2 separate regions of the Homo sapiens genome follow, and region 2 is linked to region 1. The links are contacts of gene promoters, found by promoter capture Hi-C in blood cells and fetal thymus (Javierre and others, 2016). All regions are on one chromosome and are shown on one strand. Each heading gives the region's core, a stretch centred on a gene start or on the middle of the fragment in contact. The rest is flanking DNA. Distances are from core to core; before and after follow the strand shown.

Region 1 (5,231 bases), core at 1,874-4,373:
TGCTATACTAAAAATAAAACAATAACAATTGGAGGAAGTGAAAGCACAATGATGTGGGAAAATTGAAATACTCATGCATTGTTGATGGGACAGGCAGCCATGTTCAAAAACATTTTGGCTGTTCCTTAAAACATTAAAGATGCACTTACCATATGACCTAGCAGTTTTACTCCTGTCAACCCTAAAGAAATAAAAATGTATGTCTACACAATACATGAATGTGAATATTCATAGCAGCTTTATCCATAATGCACTTTGGGAGGCCAAGGTGGGCAGATCATGAGGTCAAGAGATCGAGACCATCCTGGCCAACATGGTGAGACCTTGTCTCTCCTAAAAATACAAAAATTAGCTGGGCATGGTGGCGTGCACCTGTAGTCCCAGCTACTCGGGAGGCTGAGGCAGGAGAATCGCTTGAACCCAGGAGGCGGAGGTTGCAGTGAGCCGGGATTATGCTACTGCACTCCAGCCTGGTGACAGAGTGACACTCCATCTCAAAAAAAAAAAAAAAAAAGGGGGGGAAACACATAAATATCTATCAACTGATAAATGAATAAACTAATGGCAGCCATCCATACAATTTAATAGAATTTGCCACCTAAAAGGAATGAAATATTGATACATGCTACAACATAGATGAAACACATAAGTATATTAAGCTATGTGAAAGAAGGCAGATGCAAAAGACCACATATTACATGATTCTAGTTATATGGTGTCCAGAAAATCAAATCTGTGGAGTCAGGAAGTCATGAGGGCTGCCTAGAGCTGGGGGCTGGGAATAAGAGGTGGCAAATGATAAGCATGAGGGATTTCTTAGGAAAGATAGAAATGTTCCAAAACAGGATTGTGATGATGGTTACACAAGTCTAAAATTTTACTAAAAATAATTGAACTGTACACTTAAAATGGGAATGTTATAATATGTCAATTATACTTCAGTAAAGCTGTTTAAAAACAGAAAGTTGGTAGTGTGGCCCCCAGCAGCCTTGCTCTTTGTCCTACTGCTCACTTTCCTAAAGAAAGCAAAATATTTATTGGTTTAAAGAAAGCTTACAGTTATTGCTTCCACTCAGACTCCAAGAGACACTGCCTGAACTCTAAGAGCCTCCAGAACTCTCAACAGCTGAAGGAACATTTGGTCCCACCCTGAAGGTCATGGGGGTCTGTAAGGTGCACTCCAGCATCTGATATGGCAGGCAAAGGTGTGTGATGCACCTGGGTGGTTTCAGATAGTGCTCCACAAGTCCCAGGGCCCGTGTCTAGTTCTGAGAGCTTCAGAAGACAAGCTGCTACACCTTGCATCACAGGACCAACCTTTCCTAGGCAAGTGGGTTTGAAGCATTGGCAGCCAGGTTCCAAGTAGAAGGTGAATGTCTACACACAGGAGAAAGGCAAGACCCAGAATGGGGAGTCAAGCTAAATCATTTGTAGAGTATGACTTCCAACAACTTCAGAAAGCATTCTTTTGAAGTGCTTATGGCATTTCCACCAACATAGACCATAGGCTGGACCATAAAACAAATCTCAATATATATCAAAGAATCAAAATCATACAGAGTATATGCTCTGGCCACAATAATATTTAATTAGAAATACATAACAATAAGAAAATCCCCAGTTTTAGAAAACATGCAACATGCTTCTCAATAACACTTGGGTCAAAGAAGACATCACAAGAAAAAATTCAAAACGTCAGTAACTGAATAATGATAACCCAATGCATCAAAATGTTGGATACAGCTAACATAGTGTTTAGAGAGAAATTTACAACTTTAAATGCCTATGGTGGAAATGAGCAAAGAAGTAAAGTCAATTATCTATGCTTTTATCATAAGAACCCTGAAAAAGAAGAGTAAAATAAACCCAAAGTTAATAAACATTTAAGCCAATAATAAAAATAATGAAAATCATGAAATAGAAAAATGAACAAACAATAGAGACAATCAGTGGTCAATTTTTCTGTACTCCATGAACAAAACTTCAGTTCAGAATGATTTTATATTTAAATATATATCCAGAATCACAAAGATCTTAGAAGAAAAAATTAGGAAAATATAGGAATAAAGTGGGAACTCTGTGGGAATAAAAATCAGAAAGTAATTGCCTACCAGGTAAACTCGGGGGAGGGCAGGCAATTGACTAAGAACAGGCAGATAAAACTTTCTGGAGTGAAGGAAATGGTGGTCTTCTTTTCGTTGGTACTTACATGGACATATATAACTGTCAAGGTTCATTGACAATGAACACTTAAGTGTACACTGAACGCTTAAGATCTGGGCCTTGTAATGCCCAGATTACATCTACTTAAAAAAACTACATCTCTATTTTTTTAAGTAGAGAAAAGTGTCTTGGGGAGTTTATGGCAGTGATGTTTGGGCAGACTGGGGCATAGGTTTCAGAAGCATTCATAGCATCTTCAGTTCAACAATTTGCTAAGAATGGTTTTGCAGCCAAAAATGTAAGATGAGTGCAAATATCTATGATTAGAGTCATTGGGCATACAACTACAAATCCCCACACTTGTATTACAGGCCATATGATTAATTCGTTATCACTAGATACCTTTCCTTCAATGAGGTTCTTCCATTAGGAACCCAGAGCTCTCCAGGGAAAAATTGCAATTGAGGTTTTGGATATATTGGGTGGAAAAGAAAGTCACCTCACATAAAACTTAGTGATTGGAGCTGTCACCATTGAAAATTTCTAAACTTTGCAAGACAGCAGTGACGTTTCAAATGACACTCTCAGAGAGTTGATAATGGGCTAAAATAGATCTCCCTCCAGGTGGATTTACTGTACAAGGACAACATTTACATTGCACTTGGAGACTTCTCCCAGTTTGGTTTAAGTTCACAGATTGCAGATCCCAGACAGCTGGTATCAACTGACCAGTGTTCTGTTAAGGCTAAAGCCAAGACTCTTTATCACACTGTGGCCTTAAGATTGGATTTCTCTTCCTGTTCCTGGGAAGAATTAGAGATATAACCTAAAGGTCACTATTATTCTGAGAAAAGGGATTCTGGAGGAGGAGGGAGCAATGAGTATGTGGCAGGAGTTCAAGGTAATAAGGGCTGAGACACAAGCCACAGAGCATAAAGCTCCAGTCCTTCCTCCAGGGATGAGGCAGTAAGGACTTGGACTCCTCTGTCCAGCTTTTAACAATCTAAGTTACGGTTAGAGCTTTCTCCTTTTCTTTCAACTACTCCTGGCAGTTGTGGGGTCATGGAATTTTTGTAAAAAATGGGGTGGAGGAAAATAAGGCATCTGCTGAGTGTATAACCATTTTACCTCTTGTTTTTAGCCCTCTTCTGGGTCACGCTAGAATCAGATCTGCTCTCCAGCATCTTCTGTTTCCTGGCAAGTGTTTCCTGCTACTTTGGATTGGCCACGATGGGCTGGAGCTGCCTTGTGACAGGAGCAGGAGGGCTTCTGGGTCAGAGGATCGTCCGCCTGTTGGTGGAAGAGAAGGAACTGAAGGAGATCAGGGCCTTGGACAAGGCCTTCAGACCAGAATTGAGAGAGGAATTTTCTAGTAAGTAAACTTGAGTCATGGGTCTGTGGCTCCATCTTAAACTCTGCATGGGTGTGGGGAGGTTGACCTTGTCTAGCAAGTTAAGGAAAGTTGTAGCCAAATGAAAGCCAGTCACACATCTAAAGTCATCAGAAAGGAAATAGAATAAAATGGTATAGTGTGAAAGATACTGGATGGGGTGTCCAGAGACTGGATTCTGGCCCTGACGCAGAACTTGAGAGGCAGCCATGTCAGCCTCAAGGCCCCTTTTCTTCTCTTCTAGAGAGTCACACATGAGTTCTCCTTCTTGTCTACAACTCTTATGTTCTGAAGCTTTTTGTCTTGGCGATTGCTGTGCGACATTCACAAAGGACATCATTTACCTGGAGACCTCACCAGTGGGTCCTGCCTGTCTAGACTGCCCCAGGCTTCATTTCATTTTATAGCTTCCTTAGTATCTTTAGTGAGGGCAAAATAAAAGGAAGTGAAGGTACGGATGTGTGTGTAATTGTGTGTGTGTGTCAGACAGAGAAAGAAAATGAGGGGGAAAGAAGGTCAGAGACAGAGAATGAGAAAGACAGAGAATGAATGAGAAAGATAGTGTGAGGGAGAGCATCAGCAAGAGAGAGAGAGTGAAAGTGAGAGAGATCATCAGTGAGAGAGAGAGAAAGAGAGAAAGAGAGCATGCACAAGTGCACGGCACAGAGCAGAGACAGAGTAAAAGGCAGTATGAGGCCAACATGCCTCATTTATATTTCTCATATATAGCCTTTTTAAAAAAAAACCATTTGTATCTGTTGTTCAATACTCCAAATAAATTGACTGCAGAATTTGCTGTAGTAACTCTTTGTGCAAATAACCCTGTGAGGAAGGTAGAAAAGGGGTCACCTCCAACTGGACAATGAACCCATCAAGTTCCAGAAACATAAAGTTACTTGCCAAGAACAGCTGATTAATGTGTAGCAGAGCTCAGACCAGAGCTTCATTCCAGAAGCTTCATCACTTGACCCCCGGGCTAATCCTTGGTGGGTCTTCAGTCTCTCCCTTTGCCTCTCTGTGTGCCCCAAACCAATTCCATGTTTTCCTCCCAACCCAGGGGACTGGGGGAACTATGTATCTTCTTCATGCAGGTTCTGGCTGCCTAGAAGGTCCTGCCCTGTTCACACAGAAGCTCCCCTTGACACTCTCCTCTTCTTTCACTCTTCTCTGACCTCTTTAAATGTCCAATTTCCTCCACTCTCTGTTCTAATAGTGAACAGATATTAACACATGACTGATATTAAATGTTTGTAATCCTTATGTCTCAGCAATATTTACAATCTAACATCTGATACCAGGAAAAAGCAATGCTCAGTCTAGAGGAAGAGTTCTGCTATGGTGAAAATGCAGGGAGCATAATGGATGGGCAGGGCCTGTATGAAGATAAAAACAGAGAATCCTTTCAGTGTTCTTTCTGTGCCAGGCACTGTGCTAAAGGTTTTGCATGTGCTGACTCATTTACTTCCCATAACAACCCTATGAGATGGGTAATACTATTATCCTCCTTTTTTATAGATGAGGAGACAGACACAGAGAGGTTAATCAACTTGTCGAAGGTCCCAAGTTAGATTACGGCAAAGCTGGATTTGAATCCAGGCAGTCTAGTGCAGCTTCTGTGCTCTTAAGTAGTAGTTTGTCTAGCAGCTTCTCTGAGCCTCCCTCCAGCCCAACACACAAC
Region 2 (5,231 bases), core at 894-3,393, 46 kb before region 1:
TTTGCACCAACCTAATATTAACCTGACCACAGCACCAAAGTGTTCATCTTTAACCCTGATGGGCTTGAGCACAGACTGCAAAGTCCTGGGCTCATCCTGACTTCCAGAATTACCTCAGGAAAAATAGATGGCTGGATTAGGACAGGACCACAGTGATCAGGAGGACTTAGCATGTTTTTAATCCCCTCCATTAAGAAGAATTTTGGCATTCTATTCTACTGTGAAACTACATTTGCTTTCTAAGAGACTAGGTCATGACAGCTCAAGAATGACCCGACATTTCTCTTCATCCAAAATAAGCAGGCATATTGCTCAATGGGTACCCTATGACCACCTGAATAAAACCAATATCTTTTCATAACCTCATCCTGAAACATTCTCCAAGCCTGCTGGTGGGTCCAAAGCTGGTCTGTCTTATCCATGGACCCATTCTCTGGAATTCAAGAGGTGCTGCAAAAATGCTGCCTCAAATAGCTCTGCCTGTGGCCCTATATCCCCTATTTGAGATTAGTTCACTTAGGTGCAAACATTAGAGGCTGATATTAGAGTGTGTTACCTTGTAGAGATGATGTTCTTTAACTCAGTGCAATCATCAGATTTAAAAGGTCTCCAAGAAGGTCATTATTTCAAACTTGAGAATCTCTCATGAGAAGCTCTACTGTTCTTTCTATCTACTGCCAGCATCTTTTAAGTATTAACTCACTTACTTCTCATTACAGTGTGGGAGGTATTATGAGGAAACTGAGGCACAGAGAATTTAAGTAACATGTGGATGTTAGTGAGTGAGTGGCTGCAGTTTGGAGCTTGAGCACCATGTTCCAGTGTGTGCTCATCACCAGGCTTCCTTCTGGAAGGGAGAGACAGAGTCGGAGTCTGGAAAACAGCAAGGGAGGGTCTGGATCAGGGGACTGTGAGCAGGCCAGGTGTTGTGAGAGCTGACCGAGGACATGGCCTAGAGGCTGATTATGGAGATTGTGAAAATTGCTATGGAAAAGAAATTTCCAGAACCCAGATTTTGGCTACTTTTGAAAGCATTTTTGAGGTAATACTGTCCTCTAGTGGCTAGATAGCAGGTAGGGATTACCCTCCAAATAAATAGCCAATGAGCCTTGAGTGGAGATGGTATGACAAGTCAGTGGTAAATTCATCATTTTGCTCTCTAACTACAGGTTCTAAAGGAAAGGCAAACCCCACTGCTATGGTCATCGGTACAGCTCAGGATTTCGGCCTCCTCTGCTCCGTGTGTTGGCTACAGGCTAGGTTCAAATCCCAATTCTGCTCTTTACTGCTGAAAGGCTTTGGGCATGTTCGTTAATCTCATTTTCTCTTCTGAAAAAGAGACAATCTTGAAAAGATTGACCTTCCGTGAAGATCAAATGAAGTAATGCGTGTAGTGTGTCTGGCACGTCGTAAGCGCATCACACACGTGAGCTGTGGCAATACTAAGGAGCAGTGGCAAGAGCTGGGGGAGGAGTGGAGACGAACAGACCTGGACAAATTAGTGACCTTTCTGGGACCCCTACAGAACTCTTCTGGAGAAATTAATTCTATTTTTCCATGTACTTTTAAGTTTGCTTTTCCTAGCATTTCTTCTACATTCCTGAATAATTTTCCACTCAAAAATTTCACTGGTTCTCCCTGACTCCCATATTAATCTAGACATAATTACTTCCCCAGAACAGTTCTGTGGGCAGGGAGGGCTCTACACTATGCACCCTCCAAAATCCCCAAAGCTCGGACCGTCCTGGCCTGGGTCCCCACTGCTGTCCTGCCCATGGGCTCCCAGGCTGTGCTTGCTCTTCTCCCACCCCAACCCCATCACCACAAAAAGCCCCTCCTCCAACCCGGGGACTTTTGTAATTTCCTACCTGAAATCATCCACTCCCTACCTCTAACAATCTGTGATGAGCAGAGGACAACATCAAGTTTGAATTTAGAGGTAGGGAATGGGTGATTTCAGGTAGGAAATTACAACTTCACTTTGAAGTTTAATTTTGTAATAAACTTCACTTAATTTTGAAGTAAATTTGCAAAGTCAGCAAAATTCTTTCAAAGTCAACCTTGCTCTGGCCTAGTTGCTTATTTACTGCTAAGCTGGATGTTTTCATTAAAAGATTAACTTTGAGACTTCAGCCTCTTCTTTAGCCTGAACTGTGGGTAGTGATGTGGTGTGTTTCCTAACACCTCCGGCAGTGAGCCAGGCTTTGAGTGGCTGCGTCTAAACACTTCTTTCCCTGAGGACTGGAAGACATTAGAATAAGGTTTGTCATTGAGTGTGTTCTGTGTGCTTGGAACTGAGAAGGGTGATGAAGTGCCAGATAGGATGGGAATGGAAGATATCGTGGAAGCCAACTATGAGTTTGCAAGGCAAGGACCTTGGCAAAGATGGTCCTAGGGAGACAGGTGTTAGGGAACTCAGAGGGCATGGGCAAAGGAAGATTTGGTTTCAAAAAGGATACAGACAGAGAAGGTTAAGTCTAGGAAGTTGAGTCTTAGAATTGTATGGTGGAATATTCGTGGGTGTCCATAGGAGGAAAAATGGGTTAAAATGTTTTCACTTGACAGCGTTCTGAAAACCTAAAAGGTATTGCTATTGCCTTCAGGGATATATTTAGTATTCTGACCACTGCTTCCCGGCCACAAGCAAAAGAAAACAGTGACATGGCTATGCTCCTAAAAAAGTAAAGAAGTTAATGTGTCTCAAACAATGTAGTTCCTTTGAGCAATAAGCTTATTTGGAACAAATGGGTTACAAAGTCCCACTAATGAAGAGCCTCTGATTGTGTTAAGTTGAATCTACAGATCAACCTGCGGAGAACTGCCAAGAACGCTAATGAAGACAGGGAGGTACTGGTATAAAGATAGATAACAGATCAATGGAACAGAATAAAGCGTCCATTAGCAGGAAGCAAAATCCGCAAACTTTTATTCTTAACTACTACTATATTCTGCATTTTACAAGATCCTTCAATTCTCACAAGATCCCTATGAGATAGACAGTAATAACCTAATTTAAAGATAGATGAGAATTGGAGCTTGTCTAGAATAGATTGAGTGGAACATCACTTGTGGTATATCATTTGAGAGGTAATGGGAATATTGCCAAATTCCCAGGTAACTCTCCCCTCAAAGGGACTCCTGTTGTACTCTAAATCGTATCAGCTATCAAATGATGAGCTATGAAAGTCTGTCTTCTTCGACTGTAAGCTTCTTGAGAGCAGAAACTGATGTGATAAAGGTCCCCCCCCATATCTCTAGTGTTTAGCATAATACTTTGATATATTATGTTAAATCAGGCTATGTTATAGTAAAGAATAAACCTTAACAACTTAGTGAGATAACACATAAATATTTATTTCTTCCTTACACAATATCAGCTGATCTCCAGGGCTACCCTTTTCCAAATGGCGTTTTGGGAATCCAAGTGGCCTTTCTCTTACAGCTTTGCCTTCTTGAGGATGGAGGATCGCTGTAGAGGAGGAAACAAAGCTGGAGGGTCACATACCAGCTCTTCAATCCTTGGCCTAGAATTCACACCTGCTATTCCCACTCCCAGGCCATTGGCCAGAAGAACTAGTCACAGAGCCATGCCTGTATTTAAGCAACAGCGAAATGTTAAGCATGTGGGGAGCAGTATATGCCTCCGCCACCCTGGCTGAGAGTGTGTGTCAATAAACCTTCTTGGATAAACTAATGAGTAAATCTGACAGAGGGTTTAAATTATACTATGACAGAAATACTCAAATCCTGAAGCAGCTTTCCACTTCCAGAGCCTCAGATGAAATCACACATGTCATCAACAGGAGGAATAATGAACATGGAGCTGCCTTTATTAACAATCTAGTCTATACAAGGCACTGTTCTAGAAATTTCAAAGGGGCCATACTGCTTAGTCCTCATGGCAGCCCTATGGGATGGATGTTAATATTCTCCTTTAACAAATAAATTTTGCACAGAACCGTGGTGAGCCAGTAGTAGAGCTGAGATTTCAGCCTATGTTTGCCAAGTGCCAAAGCTTATAATATAGTCTGTCTTCTCTACTCCACTGACTCCCTCAGTCATTAGTTCCTTGGGCACAGTTGATCGGTGGAAAGCAATGGCCTTCAGAAACACAGTCTGGGTAGTTGCCGTAGACAGAGAAGCCAGGAGGAAGGCAAAGAGAGAAAAAACTGCACTCCATAGCTGGGCTCTTCCATCCCCAACTGCTCTGCCTTTTCTCCTCTCTCTCCTGCTACAACCCAGTGATTGCCACTGTGAGATATAGGTACACCTGCAAGACCTGAAGTCACTAGTGGACAGAGTAGACGTCAGAGCCTGTTTTGGAGCTTTGTGTGAATTCTGATGTCTGTTTTGCACATTCTATCCTTGTTGAGCAGATGAAGAGGCAGGTGCAGTGATCTCACAGTGTCACATAGAACTCCTTTCCCAATGGCCTGGATTTTGTGGGAATTGACCAAGCTCATTTTATGCAACTCTCTGACCATTCAGAACAGAGACTTAAATGTCTCCCCCATACCAGTAACACTCCATACTGGCTCAAAGACATTGGAAACAAGTCAGAAGGATTCCAGGTCAGGCTTTGCCATTTCTGTTGCATTAGCTTGGATACTCACGTGAATTATCCGAGCTTTAATGTTTTTATCTATAACATGGGGCTCATACATACACTCTCTGATTGCCCACTGGATTGTTGTAAGCACCAAATGGAATAACGTATAGAAGAGTGCTCTGTAGACTGTTAAGACAGATTTAAACATAAGAAGTTATTTTTTAGTGATTGGCTGAATAATTAAGATTTTTTTTAACTTTCTGATTGAGTTATGATTTTTTGAGGGAAGAAAGCAAAGTTGCATATGTCCATGACATTTTAATCCTCTAAGGTCCGTGCCAACTCTGTCATTCCATAAACCACACTTGGCTGTGCCCATTTTCTTCTTTCTATAGTGCTTAAGAGCCAGGCCACTGGAATCGTGACACATTACTAGATATGTAATATTGAACAAAGTATTTTAACCTCTTGAACTTCAGGTTTCTCACCCGTGAAATGGGGATGATAATATTTGTGTTGAACATTTCCACAAGGATTAAAACAGTCATGCATGTAAAGCAATTTACACAGTGCATGGTACATCATGGAGTACTTGAAAAATGGTTGCAATATTATTGTCGTTATTATTATTCATATTAAGGAACCATCATGCTGCCTCCAGGGCTCTTTGCATAATCAAATT

What was found. The method cuts DNA at HindIII sites, captures the fragments that hold promoters and counts their contacts. A CHiCAGO score of 5 or more calls a contact.
Region 2: the fragment with the promoter of HAO2 here is called in contact with the fragment with the promoter of HSD3B2 in region 1 in 2 of 17 cell types (neutrophils and monocytes); the score reaches 9.5 in neutrophils.

Annotation. Positions count from the first base shown.
Region 1 is chr1:119,412,027-119,417,257 of GRCh38, forward strand. It overlaps HSD3B2 (hydroxy-delta-5-steroid dehydrogenase, 3 beta- and steroid delta-isomerase 2), which reads left to right and starts at 3,124. Exons shown (of 4, transcript NM_000198.4): 1 at 3,124-3,176; 2 at 3,305-3,535. The coding sequence starts at 3,394. RefSeq lists promoters at 2,051-3,177, 2,601-3,318 and an enhancer at 2,891-4,090. The HindIII fragment of the contact is 2,795 bases long and covers 1,051-3,845 here.
Region 2 is chr1:119,366,642-119,371,872 of GRCh38, forward strand. HAO2 (hydroxyacid oxidase 2) reads left to right here and starts at 2,144. Exons shown (of 8, transcript NM_016527.4): 1 at 2,144-2,261. It overlaps HAO2-IT1 (HAO2 intronic transcript 1), which reads left to right and starts at 2,305. Exons shown (of 2, transcript NR_046780.1): 1 at 2,305-2,367; 2 at 3,443-3,690. The HindIII fragment of the contact is 4,151 bases long and covers 1-2,728 here.